Linked DNA regions of Homo sapiens: regions 1 and 3 are each linked to region 2. Evidence: promoter capture Hi-C in 16 types of primary human blood cells and fetal thymus (Javierre and others, 2016). All regions are on one chromosome and are shown on one strand. The core of a region is centred on a gene start or on the middle of the fragment in contact, and the rest is flanking DNA. Distances in the headings are between cores, read along the strand shown. Region 1 overlaps ADGRG2 (adhesion G protein-coupled receptor G2). Region 2 holds the start of EIF1AX-AS1 (EIF1AX antisense RNA 1). Region 3 overlaps CDKL5 (cyclin dependent kinase like 5).

Region 1 (3,425 bases), core at 99-2,598, 1.1 Mb before region 2:
AGTCTTTATTAATATAACTGGAATGTCATTTTATCAGAGGCTAATGAAAATATTTTCAAAATAGTTCTTCCTAATTCATTTTTCTTTTCAGAATAGCTCCTAATTCATCACTTGAAGAGTAGCATGGCATTTCCAGCTAGCTTCTCTCATTACATATGACTGTGAAGGCTGCTGTGAAGTATTGCTGGGTTTTATTAGGATGATAGCAGGAGTCAATATGCTGATTAGATCCTCCGTTTTCTAGGAGCATTCCGTTTTCCAGTTCACTTAGCATTCCCTTAGGGGGCTTTGTACTCACAAGTCATCCGGTGAACCATTGGGGAATTTCCCATAGGATCCAAGCCCATAGTTATCTGGGGATATAGTCAGGATGATGGTCACAACCACAGCTGGTACCCCTGGAAGATGGGAAACATTGGTCACACCTAATTTTTTTTTTTTTTTTTTTTGAGACGGATTCTTGCTCTGTCACCCAGGCTGGAGTGCAGTGGTGCGATCTCGGCTCACTGCAACCTCCGCCTCCTGGGTTCAAGTGATTCTCCTGCCTCAGCCTCCCTAGTAGCTGGGATTACAGGCGCGTGCCACCATGCCTGGCTAATTTTTGTTTTGTATTTTTCGTAGAGACGGGGTTTCACCATGTTAGCCAGGATGGTCTCGATCTCCTGACCTCGTGATCTGCCCGCCTCGGTCTCCCAAAGTGCTGGGATTGCAGGCGTGAGCCACCGCACCCGGCTGGTCACACCTAGTTCTAATAACCAAAGTGGGTGACAAGACTAGAGATCACATCCTATTTACATCTTGTAGCAGAGACTGGCTAGCTGTTCACCAGGCTGGTTTCTTTTCCTCTTTGGCACATGACTGGATGCTCCCAGCCTCCCAGGCAGCTGGGTGTGTGTGGCCACATGGCTCACTTTGGGCCCATGGGATACGGGCACAAGTGATTTGCTCCACTTCCAGGCCTGCCCCATAGAAACCTCCTGTGAGATCCTCTACTTTCTTTTTGCCTGCAAACTTAGGGCAACCTTGAGGCAGAGTCTTCAATAGCTTGGATCCCTGAATAACTGCAAGACCAGGGACTCCTCTGCCCCTGCTAACTAGACTGTAGGTGAGTGAGAAATGATCTTCTACTGAGATTTCAAGGTGAATCTGTTACAGCTGCCAGTGTTGCCTTTAACTCCCCACCCCCCACCCGGCCCCCCTCTGTCACCCAGGCTAGAGTGCAGTGGCACAATCTCGGCTCACTGCAACCTCCGCCTCCGCCTCCCGGGTTCAAGCGATTCTTGTGCCTCAGCCTCCCAAGTAGCTGGGATTACAGGTGTGCACCACCACACCTGGCTAATTTTTGTATTTTTAGTAGAGACGGGGTTTCACCATGTTGGCTAGGCTGGTCTCGAACTCCTGACCTCAGGTGATCCGCCCACCTCGGCCTCCCAAAGTGCTGGGATTACAGGCATGAGCCACTGCACCCAGCGTTGTGCCTTTAACTTATACATGTCTGGAATGTATATTTAAGAGTCAGCAACTCCTGGCAAATCTTTCATTATGAAACCAAAAGTCCTCAATTTGAAGACTTTGAGACCCAGTGAAGGATGGAGGGTTCTGTCCTGGCTGATCCAGGGGGTGGTGACTGCTACTATGCTGGCTCTGTTGAGAGCCCACGGACACTTCCCTTCAGAGAAGGTACCATGAGAAGGGTCCCCCAAGTTTAAAATGGCTTTTGGTGGGGAAAGAATCCTATTCACCACTGCACACCATCACCCGCCAGCCCCATGCCACCGCCCCACACTCTGCACACTGACCAGCAGACGTCCTATCTCAAGGCTCTGGTAAAGAACAAACAATTCCTTGTCACAGACCAGTTGCAGTGCCTGGTAAAATCAAATCTAATAGTTCATTTAATGCCTTTGCGCTTGTACCTTCTGGTGACCCTGACATATGATAATTTTCTAAGTGAGACACTTTGTTAAAAATAAAACATTGGGGGTGGGGGCCTCATACTTAAGAAAGGAATCTGACTTTCAGCCTTCTCTAAAGAAGACAGAATCCGTGCCCAGTATCTGGAGCGTTGACTTATGTTTCTGGGACAAACAGGGAAAGGGTGTTGTTCTGTTGTTCTTCACAAAGACATAGTGACATAAGATAGAAGGCAGGGTGGCAAGGGTGGTGGTGTGCTTTCAATCTTGATGTGTAGGAATATTTAGCCTGAAAATAGAGGCAGTCTGGTTGGGGGGATGGCAGAAGGCTGCATATAAGGAGACGGAGAGCCAGGCTTGCTGTTTTCTAGCTTTGTGAATTGGGGGGATATCACATCATCACTTGGAGCCAGTTTCTTCACCTACATTTGGGATGACTGCCTGGCTCACCTCACTGGCTTATCTTGCATGGGGTCACTTGTGTGAAAAACAGGGGATTATACACACTGTTATATATTACTTGTAGATTATCTAAAGGACTCTCTGGCAGAAGAGGTATCAACTTACTGTTTTCTGCCTGAGCAAAACCACTGGTAAGTGCCACCAGGGAGCCAACTGAACTTAATGGAAAATCAGAACTGTAGAGCTTTATAAAATGGTTATTGGCTGCCTTGTAAGGTCATGAACTCCCCAGTAATAGAAGTATTCAAGCAGAAGTTAGATTATCTTTAGTCAAGGATAAGTCAGGTGGAGTTGAGGGTTGAAGAGGCTCCTGCATTGGGTGGGAAATTGAATGAAGAAATCTTCAACATATTTGGGGAGCCTAAGGCCTTGCGACCTGCCACCAATAGGCTGCACAATCTGAAATGTCATGCCCACGTGGCAGTGAAGTTACAATGGGTTTTATATGTACATTCTCTCACTCTGCCCTTCTTAGCATACTGTCATACGTGTCTGATATCTGGGAGGTACAAAGTAGAATGAGGCTGGCTGGGAGCTCAGGGACTGAGAGTTTGGGCTCTTTACCACCAAGCTAATGTTTTCAATATATTACCACCCCAAGCTAATGTTTTCAATATATTGAGCACCTTCTGTGCCAGCCCCAAATTCTAGTTCCTGGAGATACAAAGAGGATTCATGGTTCAACCTTGAGGAATTCCATATTCATAACAAATCCAAAGAAATAAACAGGTGTCCTAGAAGGAGACTTGACAAAGTTGCTCTTCGGGCAGTGCACATGTAAGAGTATAAAGCTGTTTTAGAAACTTGCTGAATGTGATCTGCTTCATCGTTTCCACCTGCTCAAAAATCAAAACACTAGAGAAAAGGCAGAGAAAGTCCAGGCAACATGCAGGCAAGCTTATACATACCCCAACCGACAATGCAGAATTTAAGGATGTATTTTCGGATGTAAGTATTAAATACTTTGACAAGGGCCAGGTACATATGGAATGCTTCTAGGCCCATCCATGTGAATGAGACCAAGAGAAAATAATGAAGAAATACAGCCAC
Region 2 (3,349 bases), core at 781-3,280:
GAGCCCAGGAGTTCGAGAATAGCCAGGGCAACATATGAAGACCTCATCTCTATACAGTTTTTTTTTTTTTTTTTTTTTTTTTTTTGAGACAGAGTCTCCCTCTGTCACCCAGGCTGGAGTGCAGTGGTGTGATCTCGGCTCACTGCAACCTCCGCCTCCCAGGTTCAAACAATTCTCCTGCCTCAGCCTCCTGAGTAGCTGGGATTACAGGCACGTGCCACCACACCCAGCTAATTTTTGTAATTTTAGTAGAGACGGGGTTTCATCATGTTGGTCAGGCTGGTCTCGAACTCCTGACCTCGTGATCCGCCCGCCTTGGCCTCCCAAAGTGCTGGGATTACAGACGTGAGCCACTGCGCCCAGCCTAAAAAAATTTTTAAAATTAGCCAGACGTGGTGGTGTGTGCCTGTAGTCCCAAATACTCGGGAGGCTGAAGTGGAAGGACTGCTTCAGCCCAGGAGGTCATGGCTGCAGTGGGCTGTAATCGTGCCACCACACTTCACCCTGGGCGATGGGCAAGACGCTGTCTCAAAAAAATAAAGTCCCCAGCTAAAAAAGAAAGGATGTTATTTTAAAAAGCGTAATTTATGAAAACACTTACCCTGACCATCCTCTTTGAATACCAGTTCTCTTTTTTCAGATTCATTCTCATTCTTACCCCTGCGTCTGTTTTTACCTCCTTTACCTGATGGTTTAAAAAAAAGAAAAGGAGGTAAATGACATTAATTATCTGTAAAACAGTATGAAATAAAATGAAATTAAGGCTTATAAAACCATTTTTTAAAAGATCACTTAAATTAAAAAATTCATCTATTTTAGCTACACAATCATATTAAATTTACAATCTCCAATCCCAACATTAACACATTATCACCTCCCTACCCTTCTTGGAATTTCCTTTGGGGATTTTTCTGACATAAAATACACATAAATAGCAGATATTATGTTAAAAAATATAGAAAAACATTTCACTTTAGCACCCATCCTTTTGAAATAAAAATGCAATTCTATACATATTCTTCTAAGCGGAAATCTTGGGTGTCTTCTAAAGCCAGGCCCTATGCAAGGAACCCGATACTTTCAAAATTAAGTGAAGACAGTGTCTGGACAGAGAACTGTGGTTTTCAAACTTTTGGTAGCAGAGTACCATAAATATTGAAATCTCACTGGGTGCAGTGGTGTGCGCCTAGGGTCTCAGCTACTCAGGAGGCTCAGGTGGGAGGATCACTTGAGCAAGCCCAGGAGGTTCCAGGCTAGCCTGGGCAACATAGCGAGACACTGTCTCTTAAAAAATAAAGAAGATCTGTTCGGTACCCAATTTACTTTCTTTTATAATGCTGGTCCCTACTCAACATCCCTGTTTCTATTATATGACCCCAGTGACCATGCTCTTAACCACTATGCAATAATTCTGCCCATTTACTTGTCACAATCACCCCATGAGGTCATAACATTCATTTATTCCCAGTTTACCCATGAGTTCCCTGAAGCTCAGAGAAGTTAAGTAAGTCGCTTAGCTTCAGTGAGTAAATCAGTTCACTGATTACAGTCAGTAAGCTGGGGTGACCAAAGTCACAATGTTTTTTTTGCCCCTAGCCCCCACATAAGCTTACCTCTCCACAGCATTTTGCTCCCATTCCAGAAAGGAAACCACATTGGCAGCCATTTCCAAAAGGCAGGAAAAAGGCTGTAAGTGGTAATGACCCTAAGAGACTCATGGGAAGAGCTTGGAAGCAGCAAAAAAAAATGGAGGACACTTAAATTAGGTCATGAAAAGTACCATTCCTCTAAGTAAGATAACTAAGAACTGATTGGTTTCAGACAGTACAGGAATGATAAACACCAAACTCAGCCTGGTGATTACCTCCAAAAAGAGAGTAAAAGGTGATTAGGGCTTTACCTCAATCTGCGCTGTAATTCTTAAATTCAGAGTAATGGGTTCCCAGGTATATCATGTTAGCTGTATTTTTTGTATGCCTCAAATGTTATTTAAGAAAAGACTAATTACTTGTCAATTTACCAGAATTAACCATACCCGGATCACTCCCCTTTGTATTTTATTGCCATGTAATGGGATGTTCTTTAAATTCTCTGTTGAATGAATGAGACTAGGTCTGAGTGTACAACAATTAAAGTGACATCAACATTCTTTAAACCAGAGTTGTTTTGGAGAAATTCCCAGAGAGGCTCTTTCTTAAGACATGAGGCTAGGGAACTAGATGTGATTTAGTGTAGAAGTCCTATCCCCTTGGAACCAAAGCAGAACCTATTATTCACTAAGGGTGGAGTCGACAGGAGGTAGGTGACTTAAACCAACAAATATTTATTAAGCATCTACTAATTGTCAAGTGCTGGCAATCCAATGAGATTAAGACAGATACTATTCCTGCCTTGTAGAGCTTACAGCCTGGTGGAAGAATTGGAAATCTTATTACTAGAAATAAAGGTGAGAATAAGATGGAAGTGATCCCCTTACCACCTCAGAGAGAATAAAGGATTATACAGAAGAAAACTGTAAGACTTTAAAATTTTTTGTTTATAACTCCATCTTTTCCAAAATAATGAGCAGTGACTGCACCAACTTGTGCACAGAACACCTCGACCAAGTACCCTAAGGGATAAAGTAATAAGTGACAGCTACAAAGAGGAAATGTGGTAGAATCCCTGGAGCCAGCTGTCAAGTAGAAAAGAGAGCAGAAGTAGGCCTGTGTCAGGGGAGGGTTTCCTCTAGAATGAATAATCAAAGGAGACTACTTACGGACTATGAAGTATGCTCCTCTCCTGTAGGAAAATACAGTATTTTCCCTATATTTACTTGCACAATTTTCTTCAAGTTATACGGCTATTAAAAATGACAGGAACACTGTAAATCTATAAAAGTAATTTCTTTAGGAGTGTTCTGTTTTTTGTTTTTGTTTTTTTTTTTTTAAGATTAGGCCTTCCGTTTTGGAAATCCCAAATAAAGTTATCCTCAAGTCTGATCATTTGTGAACGCTTAGCCTCAGAATGGAGGACACTTAAATTAGGTCTTTATTCTCACAACATATGCATCATCTGAAGCAAAAGTAGAAAACTTGGCTCAATATGGAATAAGTCTTCAGCAAACAAACATAAGCTATATCCTGTAAAGGGATGGAGAGAGTAAATCTCTAGAGGTGAGCCTTAGAAATGTATCAAGGTTTCACCCACTGTTCACAAGGGACAGCGAGTAGCCTCAACAATACTGAACTGTCCATAAAGAAACCCATGCAGGAGTACCTGGTGCTCACGAATGCAGACAGCACTCTGAAAGTTCAGAACGGCTTCCAGGGATTATAACCCCTCATGCCCGGGAAGGCCAAAGGGGCCT
Region 3 (3,539 bases), core at 966-3,465, 1.7 Mb before region 2:
CTGTAATCCCAGCACTTTGGCAGGCCGAGGCGGGCGGATCATTTGAGGTCAGGAGTTTGAGACCAGCCTGGCCAACATGGTGAAACCCCATCTCTACAAAAAATACAAAAATCAGCTGAGTGCAGTGGTGTGCACCTGTAGGCCCAACCTCCTGGGAGGCTGAGGTGGGAAGATGGCTTGAGCTTGGGAGGCAGAGGTTGCAGTGAGCCAAGATCGTATCACTGCACTCCAGCCTGGGCAACAGGAGTGAAACCCTGTCTCAAAAAAAAAAAAGAAAAGAAAAGAAAAAAAATACACTTCTCGGCCGGGCCTGGTGGCTCACGCCTGTAATCCCTAGCACTTTGGGAGGCCGAGGCAGGCGGATCACCTGAGGTCGGGAGTTCGAGACCAGCCTGACCAACATGGAGAAGCCATCTCTACTAAAAATACAAAATTAGCCGGGCCTGGTGGCGCATGCCTATAATCCCAGCTACTCGGGAGCCTGAGGCAGAAGAATTGCTTAAACCGGGGAGGTGGAGGTTGCGGTGAGCCGAGATTGCATCATTGGACTCCAGCCTGAGCAACAAGAGCGAGACTCCGTTTAAATAAAAAAAAAAATTTTCACACACAGTATCATTTCATAATGCTTTTTGTATTTTCAAAAGTTCTTGCCTATGCATAATACATAGCGGAATTTAAAGGATCATAACTGCAAATGATATAAATTACCTTGTGTTTGTGGCTTAAATTTTATTTTCATTTGATCTTTTTTAAACCAGCAAATAAAATACAACATTCTTGGTGATATGTTGGGAATGCAGGGAAAATAAATGAAGGTAAAAGTAATGTAATTATTGTGCAAGAAAAAGTTACTTTCAAATGTAAGAGCACAGGGAAACAATTGGTTTTCTTGATTTTAAGCTAATGACATTGTGCATTTTGTTGTTTGGACCTCTAATCCCCCTTGACAGATCCATGCCTAATGCGCGTGTCGTAGAGCAGGCTTCATCAAATTTAGGTATTTAGACACTGTGTCTACTTCAGACTGGATTGTGATGGGATTTGCAAACAGCTTAACATGCAAGGTACTGTAACTGCCTTTTCCTGCCTGCATCATTTTCTTCTTAGTTACCTTCTAGGGTGGGCTGAGGAGTAAGGCCAGCTTAGGAACGGGAAGTCTCATCAGCACAGGCTGATCCCCACTTGTGCAGGTTTCCTCCTTTGCTCAGTGTATTGCTTGGGTAGACGGACACTGCTTAGGGATGTTATTTTTTTGGGTACATATAGGAGAGGAATGTAATGGTTTGGTTAGAAGTAAAGTGTTTTGGAAAATGTATCTAATTTTCTTTGCTTTTAGATGAACATTTCTCTATGGAAAGTGACCCTTATATGTACCAGGCAGGTAAATCAATAACTCCTTGTGTGGTTGGTTGTGTCTGGATTTTTAATGGCAAACAGGTTAGACACACGGCACTGGTCTGATATTAATATTTTACTGTCAGTTCAATCGTAACTGGTTTGAAATAGGCATAGGTAACATGAAGTGCCAGTGTAACTTGATTTTGATAGTAAGAACAACTTTGGTTTCTGGAAATTAACAAAACATATATAAATAATATATATTGTTTAAAAGGATTATGTTATTTTAGGTAAGTTGCAATTTTAGATATCAGTTTTAAACTGTGTATTTTGTATTATGGGCCAGGCATGGTGGCTCATGCCTGTAATCCCAGCACTTTGGGAGGCCAAGGTGGGCGGATCCCTTGAGGTCAGGAGTTCGAGACCAGCCTGGACAACAAGGTGAAACCCTCTCTCTACAAAAAATACAAAAATTAGCTGAGTGTGGTGGCACGCACCTGTAATCCCAGCTACTCAGGAGGCTGAGTCGGGAGAGTCCCATGAACCTGGGAGGCAGGGGTTGCAGTGAGCCAAGGTCGCACCACTGTACTCCAGCCTGGGCCACAGAGTGAGACTCTATCTCAAAAAGGAAGAAAAAGATTTTGTATTATGTTTAAAGATTAGGTTCTTGGAAGTATGAGATTGTATTTTGATAATTAAAGTAAACATATACAGTCTCATGAGGAAGATATGACAGATAAAAAAAGGTGGTGAGTAATAGTTGAAGAACAACTTACTGACCCGGATTTACCTGATTACCCTGACATTGCTGATTTTAGAAACTAATTTCCTGATGAGTAGAATCTTTCAAAGATTACCAGAGGCTGGGTCAGATGTGACATATCCTAGAATTTATCCACACCCTCAGACACACACCCCACCAAGGTTTGTCAGCCGCTTATGGGATATATTAACTTTAATTGCTAGTAATTATTATTCCTAATATTACCACTAAATTCAAGTTTAGCAATGCAAATGAAAAGAAAAAATTTGATTTTAATTGTACTTACTGAAAATAGTTGGGGTAGACAAAAGCTAATTTTGTGCAAATAATTATTTTATACTTTATCAATTATTTATTTCTCAAATAACCTGTCCTACATCCTGAGGATCTGTCCTTCATTCATTTAACAAATATTACTTAATGATTCTGTATTGTGTGCCAGACTTTGCTGGAGACTACATGGAGTGATAAAATGTAAGTAGGCCCTGCCCTCAAAAAATTAATTAATTAATTTTTGAGACAGAATCTCACTCTGTCTCCCAGGCTGGAGTGCAGTGGTGCGATCTTGGCTCACTGCCACCTCCGCCTCTTGGGTTCAAGCGATTTTTGTGCTTCAGCCTCCCAAGTAGCTGGGACTACAGGTGCGTGCCTCCACACCTGGCTAATTTTTGTATTTTCAGTAGAGACGGGGTTTCACTATGTTGGCCAGGCTGATTTCGAACTCCTGACCTCAAGAGATCCACCCACCTTGGCCTCCCAAAGTGCCATGATTACAGGTGTGAGCCGGCCAAAGAATTTAGTCTTGAGATGGAGGCAGAGGAGAACTGCAGAACACTATGGGAGTGTACTTGACCCTTGAACAAGGTAGGGGTTAGGGTGCTGACCCTCACGCAGTCAAAAATCCAAGTATAACTTTTGACCCCCCCAAAAACTTAACTACTAAAATGGCCTACTGTTGACTGGAAGCCTTATTGGTAATATAAATAGTCAATTAACACATTGTTTTGTATGTTATATGTATTATGTAGTATATTCCTACAGTAAAGTAAGCCAGAGAAGAAAATGTTATTAAAATCATAGGAAGAGAAAAGATACTTACTATTCATTAAGAGGAAGTGGATCATTATAAATGTGCTCATCGTCTTCACATTGAGTAGGCTGAGGAGGAAGAGGGAGGGGTTGTCTTGCTGTCTCAGCAGGGGCAGAGGTGGAAGAGGTAGAGAAGGTGGAAGGGGAGGCAGGAGAGGGAGGCACACTCAGTGTAATTTATATTGAAAAAAAATCTGGGTATAAGTAGATCCATGCAGTTCAAACCTGTGTTGTTCAAGGGTCAACTGTATGTAACAGGGTAGGGTTGGAGAGTCTGTCCTTGGGGGAAGAGGTGGGAAGGTCGCTCTGAGGAAGTAACATTTAAGTGAGACCCGAAGAATGAGAAGGA

The links. Contacts are between HindIII fragments. The CHiCAGO score rates a contact against its expected background, and 5 or more counts as called.
Region 1: a fragment that was not itself captured here is called in contact with the fragment with the promoter of EIF1AX-AS1 in region 2 in 1 of 17 cell types (neutrophils); the score reaches 6.0 in neutrophils.
Region 3: a fragment that was not itself captured here is called in contact with the fragment with the promoter of EIF1AX-AS1 in region 2 in 1 of 17 cell types (neutrophils); the score reaches 5.1 in neutrophils.

What each region holds. Positions count from the first base shown.
Region 1 is chrX:18,999,563-19,002,987 of GRCh38, forward strand. It overlaps ADGRG2 (adhesion G protein-coupled receptor G2), which reads right to left. Exons shown (of 29, transcript NM_001079858.3): 24 at 3,284-3,425; 25 at 299-398. All of the region lies in intron 2 of LOC101928415 (a long non-coding RNA gene), which reads left to right. Among named protein-coding and RNA genes, the nearest start is that of PHKA2, 17 kb to the left of the region's middle. The HindIII fragment of the contact is 3,844 bases long and covers 1-3,270 here.
Region 2 is chrX:20,137,938-20,141,286 of GRCh38, forward strand. EIF1AX-AS1 (EIF1AX antisense RNA 1) reads left to right here and starts at 2,031. Exons shown (of 2, transcript NR_046592.2): 1 at 2,031-2,298; 2 at 2,398-2,507. EIF1AX (eukaryotic translation initiation factor 1A X-linked) reads right to left here. Exons shown (of 7, transcript NM_001412.4): 2 at 602-685. RefSeq lists an enhancer at 3,143-3,302. The HindIII fragment of the contact is 4,524 bases long and covers 1,607-3,349 here.
Region 3 is chrX:18,432,968-18,436,506 of GRCh38, forward strand. The region is part of intron 1 of CDKL5 (cyclin dependent kinase like 5); the gene reads left to right. Among named protein-coding and RNA genes, the nearest start is that of CDKL5, 9.1 kb to the left of the region's middle. The HindIII fragment of the contact is 8,731 bases long and covers 1-3,539 here.